4 separate regions of the Homo sapiens genome follow, and regions 2, 3 and 4 are each linked to region 1. Evidence: promoter capture Hi-C in 16 types of primary human blood cells and fetal thymus (Javierre and others, 2016). All regions are on one chromosome and are shown on one strand. Each heading gives the region's core, a stretch centred on a gene start or on the middle of the fragment in contact. The rest is flanking DNA. Distances are from core to core; before and after follow the strand shown.

Region 1 (2,748 bases), core at 150-2,649:
TCCCTGCAAACAGTGCTGTGCGCTGGCAGGATGGAAATCTTAGCAATCTCCCTCCTGCTTCCATAGTTTCCTCCTCTCTAAATAAAATTATTTATGGGGACTTAATGAGAGAGCAAGCCTTGTGTGAAAGGAATTCAAGAAAGTGCGGCTTCTAAAAATACACCTAGGCAGCTCTACAGTCCTTATTGTTACAACCTGACGTTTTGCAGTTCATGCCATGAACCTAACTACACTTCTTGCCAAATACACACAAGCGTACAAAGAAGAGGAAAAGTAAAAACTATGTTACTATGTTTTATCTTTCTGCAATCCCTTTGAGTAAACAGTAGTAATTTTCTGTTGACATACTCAATGCAAATTTCCCAAAGGCTACACAATACAAAACAAAAGACCTGTTAGCTTCCTCAGAGCTGGGGGGAGGAGAGGCAGGGGGAGAGAAATAAAGTTGATGGAGCTCCAGTTTCTCCTAAGCCTGCAGTCCTGAGCCTCCAGTCACCCTAGTCTTTTTGTAGAGATTTTTTGAGTTTCAGTCTCCACTTGGGAAGGTTCCTTGGCCCCTTCTCTCCCAATGTCAATAAAACCCTCATCTCTCCCGCTTTGCCCCCAGCTTTTTGGGGAAATTGGACCTTGCCTAGGCGTCTTGTTCCAGTGGGTTGAAAAGTACAGCTGGTGATGTGAGGATAAATATTTAAACTAATGGGCTGGGTCACAGCGTGGGGGTCTTCAAGAGAGGGCCTCCTCCTCCTTCCGCCACGTGCTCCTCACTTGGGGTGCAGGGCTCCTGGACAAGGGGCTAAGACGGACGAGGGTGGGATGAAGGGAGATGGACAGACCAGACTGTAAGTGAAGGAGGCCCTCTAGGAAACATCGTCTCGACCGAACATTGACGGAGAAAAAAAAAATGGCCCAAATGCCCCTAGTGGGGAAGCATACACCCCACGCAGGCTGGGTTGGGGTGGGGGTGCTTCGCGGCCTCTCACCTGACTTCCTCCTCCGCCTGCACACACACTACAGTAACCCCCTCTACTCACCCCCCAAAACCCAGCCAAACAACAAGCAACAAGAGGAAGCCGCAGGCGACAAGAGGAGGAGTGCGCGTGTTGGGGGCCCCCGGAGAGGTGAGGGGGCAGGGTTGGCGGGCGACGAGAACCGCGCCGCGCACCCCAAGCGCACCCCCAAGCGCCCACACTTACCCCTCGAGGCTGAGGGTCCTGTCTTCCGCGCCAACCCCCGTGTGCGCCCCCTGGCCCGCCCTCGCCCCTCCGGCCCGCCGCCCCCCACACCCCGGCCGGCGCGCTGGGAGGGAGCCCGGGAGCGGTGCGCAGCAGCGGCGGCGGCGGCGGCGGCTCGGGCTCGGCTCGGCTCGGGCTTCAGTGCGCCTAGTGTCGCCAGCGGCCGCCGAGGCTCCCACCGCCAGGGGGAGAAGCCGGGCGGGCGCTGGGGAGGCGGGCCGGGCCCTGGCCGCCCCGCTGGCCAGCCCGCGCCGCACAAGCTCCGAAGCGGCGGCTACGCGGGGTCCGCCGAGCCCCCGGGCGCAGCGTGCCCGGTCCGAAGCGCCACGTCTGGATGCGCGTCCCGGGTGGCTGCGGGCTCCCGCGGGGGACGCCCCGGCCGCTCCGGTGCGCCTCCAGACTGCAGGCGCCGCGACCGACGAGACGAGAGCAGCTCCCGCCGGCCCCTTCCCCCTCCCGCCCCCGCCGCCGCCCCCTCCCCCTTCTCCCCCCCCCGCCCGTTAACATCTCCTCCCTCCCCCTCCTTCTCTTCCTTCCCTTGGCCCCGCGCGCTCGCTCGCTCGCTCCTCGCCTCGCTCTCCCCTTTAAACGCCCACTTCGTATGGGGAAAGAGGACAACTTGAAGTCAAGTTGCAATTAACTTCCGCGGCAGCCGCAGCTCCGGCGGCGGCGGCGGCGGCAGGAGAGGCAGAAGCCGCCGCCTCGGAAGTCCGACGCCGGCGCGCCCGCCCGGGGAGCCGTTCTTGGTTTCAGGCCCGCACTCGACAGCCACCGCCGCCCCCAACGTCCATGCCTGAGTGAGTTCTGCTCTTTTGCCTCCCTTTTCCCCTTGCTACTCTTGCTGTTTTATCTCTGTCCCTCTTTTTCCGGAATCAATCCAAACTTCTCCGTAGCACCCACTCCTCGTCCCCTATTGGGGCGGCTGGGCTCCCCTCTCGTGGGCGCAGGGCTTCAACGGTCTTCCGAGCCCCTTTTCTCACGCAGACGGACCTTGGAGGGGTGGGCTGGTAGAGTAGGGGAGAGCGGTCGGGATGGGGGATTTGAAGATGCCATTCGTTTTCTGTCTGGGTGTGGACACACCACCACACCTGCCCAATAGACCCTGGCTGAACAAACTCCTTCAGGTCACCGGTATGGCCCCTTTTAGAAAAGGAAAGGGGAGTGGAAAAGACCGAAGGAAGCAAATGGGGAAAAGGGGAGCCTCTCGGTGCGTTCTGGAGCCGGGCGGGCAGTAAGGTGCCTGGAGGAGTGGGCTGCGGGAGTGGTAATGTTCCCCCACCGGATCGCGAGTCTGCTCAGCATCCTTTCCCGGTCCATCTCCGCCTCCCTCCGCTCCCTGCCTGCGCGGCTGATTGTAAGCATCGGCGAAGAGGGGCCTGGGAAGTTTGTGGCAACTTCTGCATCCCGGGAGCTACTCGGGCGCCGGGGCGCTCAAGTTGGAGCCCGGAGTTTGAAAGCCGCGGCACTCCTCATTTCGAGCCCTCGCTGGCTGTAGCGAGGCCGGTCCTGGAGAGGC
Region 2 (2,748 bases), core at 120-2,619, 120 kb before region 1:
TTTTAATTAATTTAAATTTAAATAACCATTATGTTTATGTGGCTAGTGGTTATTTTATTGAGCAGCACATATATAGATGATAATTATAGCTCAGAGAGTGGTAAAATAATTCAGTAGGTAATAGGAAAAGCACATAAAAATTCTAGAAAGAGGTGAGATTTAAGAGTGGGAGGAGGCAGAGGAGCTATAAAGGAAAGCATGAGAATAGGTGGGTAAAAAAAACTAAAAACGAAAAATAACTTAAGGAAAGCTAAGGAGGAGAAAAAATTTAGAAAGGAAGTGTGGTTAATGGTTTCAGCAGAAATGTAATAGACAAGGAAGTGTAAAGATGAGGACATTTCCATGGATGGTGGATATTGGGTGGTAGGTGTGACCTTTGATACCTACCAGAGTGTAATAGGTGAAGAATCAAATCACAATGGGTTTAGGAGTGAACTAAAATTAAAATAACAATTGCAATCACATTCATAGCATCATGCACCAGAACTATTTCAGAATGTAAATAAATAGAATACATCCTTTTCAAATTATGTGTGGTCTAATTCATAAGTTATCCAGCAAAGCAGACTAGGAAGGATATGGAAATGGTTCTATTTCCTGAATTCTAGGATGCCCCCAATTACAAGGTGTGTCATCAACGTAACAACAGTTTTCTTTGGAGGGGAAAGGGGGAAATTACCACTTACCATGCACATACCAATTCAAATAGCCAGCCCTCCTAGACTCAAGAGAATATAGTACTTACAAAAGAAAAGTGTTTTATTTAAAATGTATGGCTTTTTTTTTCTATCAAATGAGGAAACTTTGCTATATGGATAGATTCTAATCAATATTATCACAGATTCTCATAGAATTCTGGCTAAACATTCTTGTGTAGATGGGAACTATAGTAAAAGATGTATGAAAGTTGCCAGGAGAAGTAATAGTTTTAGAAGGACAAAGAGTATGAGACAAGCAGAGGGGTAGGTTGACTTGGGTTCCAAAAAAGAGTGAAGACAGTATTATACTGTCATCACTGGTCTCAAAAGAGATGTGACTAGCATAGGAACCAAAACCACTATAAGCACATTTGAAAGACCACATATGCTTAGGTTAACTTTGGTTTCATGTAAAGCCACTTTTTAGTTCTAGTGCCAAGGTACCTTTATCTAAGATGCTGCCATCATCCTTAGAACTGGCAGAGAGACAGCCAGAGGAGACACAAGGCCATTTTTATCTCTCTTCTCCCATCTCATCACAACTCCTGACTTTCCTGTGCTTCCAGCAGAGAGTCCTACAACTCAGACTTCCTTTACCTTCATCTGTGCAATGAACATCAGCATTGCATCCGGCTCATAGCTTCAGTTTTTATATATACACTGAGAAATATTCACTTGTATTAAAGAGTATAGAACCATAGAGCTAGAAAAGACATTTTAAAAACCACTCCCAATCAGGTATCTGTCTCAGACAGGTACTTTTTAACCTGTCCCCAAAAGACAACTATTTATTTCCTTCTTATAGATCCCTTGGTACAGAAAAATGACATTCTGCCTTGTTTGTTTGCTGCAGGATTTTATCCAGATGTTGCTTATGGTGAACAGAGACTCGTATCTTCATGGCAAAATGCACCAAACTTGATACAGGAGCCTTTGTTCAAATGTCTACTGTATTTGAATAAATACGTCTGGGTCACTAAGTTCTTCCCAACAAATGTTTTAACATCTTCCTGTTTATTTCTTCCATTTGTTCAATTCACTTCAAAAATAATAATCATCGTTCTTTACCCTTTTGTCCAGTTTGTTACTGTGTCTTGTATTTTTTTTTAATTAAGGAAATTTAGCGCAACATGTTATGCCTCTGATTTTAAATGTCGACAGTAAAGCTCTCCAAACTTATGATTTCCATGGCAAATGTAACTCAGTCTCATTGCCGAGTCACAGAGACACAACCATTAACATTTTATGCTATATGACAAAATACTGCACTTTTGGAAAGGGCCAGAATTAATGTTACTATGACAACTCCAAATTTCTGACTTTTATGCATGTAAAATTTCAAGGATATGGCTGCATTATAACACAAGGTTGTTTATAGAATCTCACTTAAGCACTAAGATATTTATTACCAGTTCTCACTGAGACCAGTAGAAAGTGTCATACTCCTCCGAATACCAATGCACATTCAGTGAAATAGATGGTAGTGTATATGTGGTTGCAAAATATTATGAAATCGATTAAAATCTTATTTCTTTTCGTAGCTGCTACACTTATAAACACATATATACAGTATGCAGCACTGGATATAAATACAAATAAAACATAAAGAGAAAACATATAAAACCTCATAAATATACAGTATCCTGCCTTATCAATATTCAGTTATGCATATCTCTGCACTCACGCATTAATAAAAGCACATATATTGGATTTGAATGTGTGAGGGATGGATAGCGAAGCTGTAATCGAGATATTCAAGCTCTCCTCTTCATGGAGAAGTATTACATTATCTCTCTCGGTCTATTATGTTTTCTGAAATTTCCAAATGTATGTTTTGGCCTCTTCAACTTTAGTCTTTTGCATTTAAGTAATGAGAAAGTTAAGTGCAATAAATGGATCACTCAAGGGCATTACAAAGAATGTTTTGATCTATTTAGAGCCTTTAACTTCAGAGCAAAGGCCTGGTTTAGTGTGACCTTAGTGAATTCAAACTGTTTTGTTTCACTAACAAGTAAAGCATTTATTTCAATAGAATTAATGTATGACTGGC
Region 3 (2,748 bases), core at 167-2,666, 100 kb before region 1:
ACTAAGGAAACAAAAAGACAAGCAGCAGACTGGGAGAAAATATTTACAATACATATATGTGAAAAAGAATTTGCATTTGAATACATAAATAACTTTTACGAGTCAATGATAAGAACTCAAACACCCAATGAAAACATAGGCAAAAGACTTGAACAGATATTTCTTCAAAGAAGATAAACATATGGCAAAAAAAGCATCTGAATAAATGCTCAATATCATTAGTCATCAGGGAAATGCAAATTAGAACGATGATGAAATGCCACTACACTTCTACTAAAATGTCTACAATTATAAAGATTGATAATACCAAATGCTGGTGAGTATATGGAGCAACTGGAACTCTCAGACAGTGTGTATTTTTAGTGGAATGATTCATCTCACATAGGTATCTTAAACAAGTGAAGAATTACTCCTTTAAGTCAGGGCCTGAGATTTAATTAATGTTCATATTTATTCTTTTTCTCATTATACCTTCAGATTTTGCTAATTTCCATGGCTGAATTATTGTATATAACCTAGCTAAATATCAAATGGTCTCTACATCAGGAAAGAAACAATTGTTATTGACCTGGTAAGTTATTTTAAGATATCATCTCTATAACTACCAATTCATACATTCAATACCTCATTCTATCTTTGTTCTATTTTAATTTTCATAAATCATTTTGGAGGCCATACTGTATCTCCTTCTTACCGTGTAAATCTTGTAATGCCTTTGGCCAAAAGTAATAAAATTCAAATCAAACACAATTACAATTCATGAGTTATCTTTCAGTTTATACATCAATTCCAAAAGCTGACTCAATTTATAGACTCAATTAGAATGTCAACTGTGCCAGGTTGTGGGGTTTGAACTGTGACATTGGGAAAATTCAAATATGGTTTTATTTACTCTAGAACTTTAATTTCCTGTAATCCTCTCACAATCTATAAGACAGAACAATGATCTCTTTGAAGTGAAAACAGAGAATCACTCCTGAATTTTATTTCCCTACAAGTCTTATTTGCTCTATTTTTATGTTATTGTGATTTTCCAAACCTAAAATAATGATTTAAAGTACAACTGAGAGGAAAACAATTTAATATGTATTTTTTATATTCCAGAATAATTAAATTCCCACAATATTTTAATGATTTGGGAGATAATTAAACATAACATGTGATATCTAAGTTTAGATATCACATGCATTCTGTGGTTTCCTAAATTTTCTGTGGATTTTGCTCTATATCAACTTACTGTCTCATTTTCAGTACCAATATTGATGGGCTCCACTTCATTGTTCAATCCTTCCCAAATGTATTTAAAATGTAGTCCCACATAGATTAAATCACATGTCAGAATTGTTCATGGTACACCCTGTACATTCCTAAAGAAAGATATTTAATTAATTAAGAAAAAATAGTAGCATTCTGTAGGAAAAGCAAAAAATGCAAGATCAAAACTCCAGCTAAACTCTTTAAGCCATTATGAGTGACCTCTAAACCACAAACAATGTTAAATTCTTGGGAAAACTTTGCTTAACTGGCACTCACAATGCATATTAACTCAGAAGCACAACCCTGCCAAAAATATAAACCACTCAGTGTTTATAAATGTGAAAAGAAAATTAGCACATGAGCAAAAGGAAAAACACATCTTTGGTGTCAACCTTTCTGTGAACTTCTCTATTGTGATTACAGTTGTGTTTGCTGGGTTTTGCAGAGGTGTGATGGACAGGGGGATATGTATACCTGGAGGGAATTGTGCAGCTGTCAATAGTTGCCGACTGGAACTATGGCAGGTATAATTGTGTTCATTGTTTGTATTTCCTGATTCACAGAGCCCCTTAAAGTCACTGCAAAGGGAGCAATTCTTACAGACGTTCCCAACCCTGTCAGCCTATGAGACTCACTAGAGTGTTTTCAAAAATATTCCAATGCCTGATTCTTTCTACAGGTTAATGAAATAAGAACCTCTGAGCATGGAGCCTGGATATCAGTATTTTCTAATAACAGCTGGTGATTCTGATGCATAGTTAGGTCTTTAAAAAGCTGTATTAAAGCAAACGTTAGTAGCTGTTTCCAGCCCAGGCTTCTAAGATGATAGAGAAAGTAGGGACAGGGTTGAAGGGCCCAAAGCTATTTCCAATTTATCAGAAAGTCCAAGAGAATTATACATGCAACCTACAATATCCAGGTTTTGTGTTGGTTGGTTGGATGGATGGTTGATCTGTAATTATATTGGATCACTATTGTGTCTTGAAAGACAGTTGATGAACATAAAATGAAGAAATGAATTATTACATAAGAAAATATTTTTAGTACAATAGTTTTAACCATTGACTCCATTTTGGATAAAACTAAAAAGAGGATCTCTGAGAGATAGCTGTGGCTTTTGCCTATATAACATCCATTCTCCTTCTTTTGAAAACAACACCTCAATTTTGTAATGGGGAAATATCCCTTCCCCAATGTCAGTCTGAGTCTAATTGAACGTACCATCTGATTCTGAGATGAACATGTGACTCAGACCTGGATAATGCCAATATTACAACCCTTTGGCCAGAATAATGATTCAAACCCATGAAGATGAATCTGAGTCAAGCCATGAGAGTGACCAAAAGTCAGCCGTGATACTTTCTAGAGTAGTAAGAAGGAAACCTGAGCCACAAATGAGAGAAAAGTCTGTGTTACTAAAAATGCAATGAGAAGAAAAGCAGAGACTAGCAGAGAAGACAATGAAACTGGTCTTGTGCTCATGGACTTGTT
Region 4 (2,748 bases), core at 154-2,653, 84 kb before region 1:
CAGTGGTAGATTGGAGCCAGGTAAGTAGCTCTGGGCAATCACTTGTGAGTGGAAGTAAGCACAAGTCACTACAGGGTAGACATTTCATTGTCAATGCAAGAGCTTATTTTTCTCTCTGATGCAGCATCACGCCATGTTTGAGATGGTAGCTATTCCACCAGCCGTCAGCCTGGGTCTTTGAGTTATAGAATCCACAGAGGTCTCCTGATAACAAGAAGTGAAAAATAAACTTTTGTGGTATTAAGCCATTAATACTTGGTTGCTTTTTAACTGCAGCATAACCAGCTGTATCCCATCTTTTCTTTTGGGGACAGTTTTGTAGCAGATGCTGTCAGTGCCTCTCATATTACCTCCCTGTTAGCATCTGTTTCCCTTTGGCCCAACTTCCAACTCCTAGCACCAGTAGTTCTTTGTTAAGGGTGTCCTCTCACTGCTGAAACTCACTCTGCCACCTGTTCAACAGGTTGGAAGCTTCTGGAATTAATGTCTCTAGGAGCAGCTCTCAAGCAATATCTGAAGAGTGTTGGTGTATAAATACTTAGCTCCCTTACCCCTTGGGTAGGATAACTTTAAGGCAGAATAGCTTGTCTGGGCTTCAAGAGCTTTCCCTGTGGGATTATGCTTCAGTTGCTTCCTGGAACTGAAAGCTGTCTTGATAACATGCTCTTCCAAAATAAACTTTCTTTCATTCTTTCACTTAATCATTCTCCTACCTTTACTCTCTAACAAATTACTCAACCTTAAAAGCTTGTCTCAGTGTCTATATCTCAGGTAACCCAAGCTAAGTCAAATTTGAATAGCAACAGTTTGGGGACAGAGAATGTCAGGTAGAGAAAGCAGTATGAAAATAGAGGCAGAGGTAGAAAAACAAAGCATTTAAAGAATAGCAAGTTATTTAGTGTATGGATTAAACTGTATGCAAAGGGAGATAATATGGGATATAGTTGGGAAAATAGATTGGCAAGATCATGAAGGATCTTGAATGATAAACTAAGTGTTTGGGTGTTTAATTATGTGGATTCTTAGCACACTTTCATTTCTCATATATTCTCTCATATTCTCTTCATCTCTCTCATTATGGATCAAAAAGAAAAGGTCATGTTCCTGCTAAATACAGAAAAGTAAAGAGAAGCAGTAGGCAGTTTTCTTGATCATTTAATCACTCAATAATATCTATATAAGAATTAGACTATGGCAGCTGTGTATTTCTAACCTCCATCCTGCATCCCCTTGCCTTTCAGCTGAGAAAGTGTAAAAGACATTATTTCTTAACAGAATCATTAACAAAATTTCATCCCCCAAAAAGTCTGATTTAAGAAATTCGGAAACACAGGGTTATTACCTACTCATTAGGTTAAGCAAGCACAAACTCAAGAAGAAAAAAAAGGCCAACTAAGAATTCCTTAGTTTGGCATATCAAAAAGCTGAAATCTCTCTCTGGAGATCACAGGCCTTAAAAAGGCAGCATATGGTAATCATAAAAGCATTTGATACAATACAAAGGATGTAGGATTCTAGTTTCTGTGTGAGCTTAACCAAGTCATTTCTCCTCTTTGGGATCCAGTTTTTACATCTTTAAAATAATGGGGTAAGACTAGAAGAACACCTAAAAAATTTTACCCTAAAAAATTATAGGCTTCCAAATAATTGTATTTGGTGTATGCTTTATTAGTAAGCAGAACAAACACCTACCTTTAGCTGGTTCTGCAATTCTAAATTTTTGTGGCAGCTGTATATTTTCTGCTCTACTCTCTTAAATCATCTTCCTCCTCTATATTTGCCTTCCCTTCCTGTGCATTCTTTAAAATACGTTATGCAAATATTTTCCCTAACCACTGTATTTTAAGATTATGCTGTCCCTGACCTTGGGAGAGTAGAAGTTAATTTTTTGGTTGCTAATGATTGAGTCTTAGGGCTTAATAAGCCCTCCAAGTCCCCTAAGAATAAGCCCTCGAAGAACAAGAGGATAATAGCTTTAAGAAGAAAGCAAACACCTCTAAAGACACTCTAGGAGTGGGGTGGTACTGCATAAGTCAGGGAATTACCAGATGAAGCTTCAGGAGTGTAGAAATTGACAGGAATGCTGAGGGCCTTTTAGTCCAAGAAGAGCTGTGTAACAAGAGCTATCAAATTATTTGGGTGCATTATTTGGGTGCCCAGCAGTCCCACAGCAAGGGGAGAGGTTTTCTTGGGCAACAATTGCCAGTATCCAGGGATCACATCATTGGTTCTTCCTATCAACAGAGATGAAAACAATTCTCTTCAACCTCAAGCACTTAAGGTGTTGACCATCTGACAGGAAATGCACTTGACTACACTTTGCCATAACACTTTGCTTAGTGTTTAACTGATTATAACTTTGGTAACTCCATTCTCACAACAACCCAAGATGTCCATATTCTGAAGAAGATACAGAGGAGGAAAAATGGTGTCAGCCATTAGAACTCAATGTGAATTAAAACCTGGAAGAATTAATCTATGAAGATGGAATTGACTTCCAAAAATATAAAAAGCCATTCAATTATCCCATGCTTACTCACATTTGCTATTTATATTTAAGCTTTTTATTGTTGTTGTTAAATATATTTGAAATTCTCCAGTAACAAGGATATCTCAATTTTAAACTAAATGATTATATTTTAACAAAAAAGTACATTTATATAGAGTAAGAACAACTGGTATGTGCATGACCAGAAAATCACTTATATAATTCGGAGATAATATCGTAATTCTTGATGTGATGATGAT

Evidence for each region. Contacts are between HindIII fragments. The CHiCAGO score rates a contact against its expected background, and 5 or more counts as called.
Region 2: a contact is called between a fragment that was not itself captured here and the fragment with the promoter of SATB1-AS1 in region 1, in 3 of 17 cell types (activated CD4 T cells, non-activated CD4 T cells and naive CD4 T cells). The highest score is 6.7, in activated CD4 T cells.
Region 3: a contact is called between a fragment that was not itself captured here and the fragment with the promoter of SATB1-AS1 in region 1, in 6 of 17 cell types (activated CD4 T cells, total CD8 T cells, naive CD8 T cells and 3 more). The highest score is 9.8, in activated CD4 T cells.
Region 4: a contact is called between a fragment that was not itself captured here and the fragment with the promoter of SATB1-AS1 in region 1, in 4 of 17 cell types (activated CD4 T cells, non-activated CD4 T cells, total CD4 T cells and 1 more). The highest score is 7.3, in activated CD4 T cells.

What each region holds. Positions count from the first base shown.
Region 1 is chr3:18,443,888-18,446,635 of GRCh38, reverse strand. It overlaps SATB1-AS1 (SATB1 antisense RNA 1), which reads right to left and starts at 1,399. Exons shown (of 7, transcript NR_125803.1): 1 at 1,194-1,399. It also overlaps a transcript of SATB1 not described here. RefSeq lists a silencer at 1,274-1,493. The HindIII fragment of the contact is 8,267 bases long and covers 1-2,748 here.
Region 2 is chr3:18,565,794-18,568,541 of GRCh38, reverse strand. No RefSeq gene overlaps it. Among named protein-coding and RNA genes, the nearest start is that of SATB1-AS1, 120 kb to the right of the region's middle. The HindIII fragment of the contact is 4,964 bases long and covers 1-2,748 here.
Region 3 is chr3:18,546,683-18,549,430 of GRCh38, reverse strand. No RefSeq gene overlaps it. Among named protein-coding and RNA genes, the nearest start is that of SATB1-AS1, 100 kb to the right of the region's middle. The HindIII fragment of the contact is 3,106 bases long and covers 1-2,748 here.
Region 4 is chr3:18,527,437-18,530,184 of GRCh38, reverse strand. SATB1-AS1 (SATB1 antisense RNA 1) reads right to left here. Exons shown (of 7, transcript NR_125803.1): 7 at 71-204. Among named protein-coding and RNA genes, the nearest start is that of SATB1-AS1, 84 kb to the right of the region's middle. The HindIII fragment of the contact is 1,307 bases long and covers 750-2,056 here.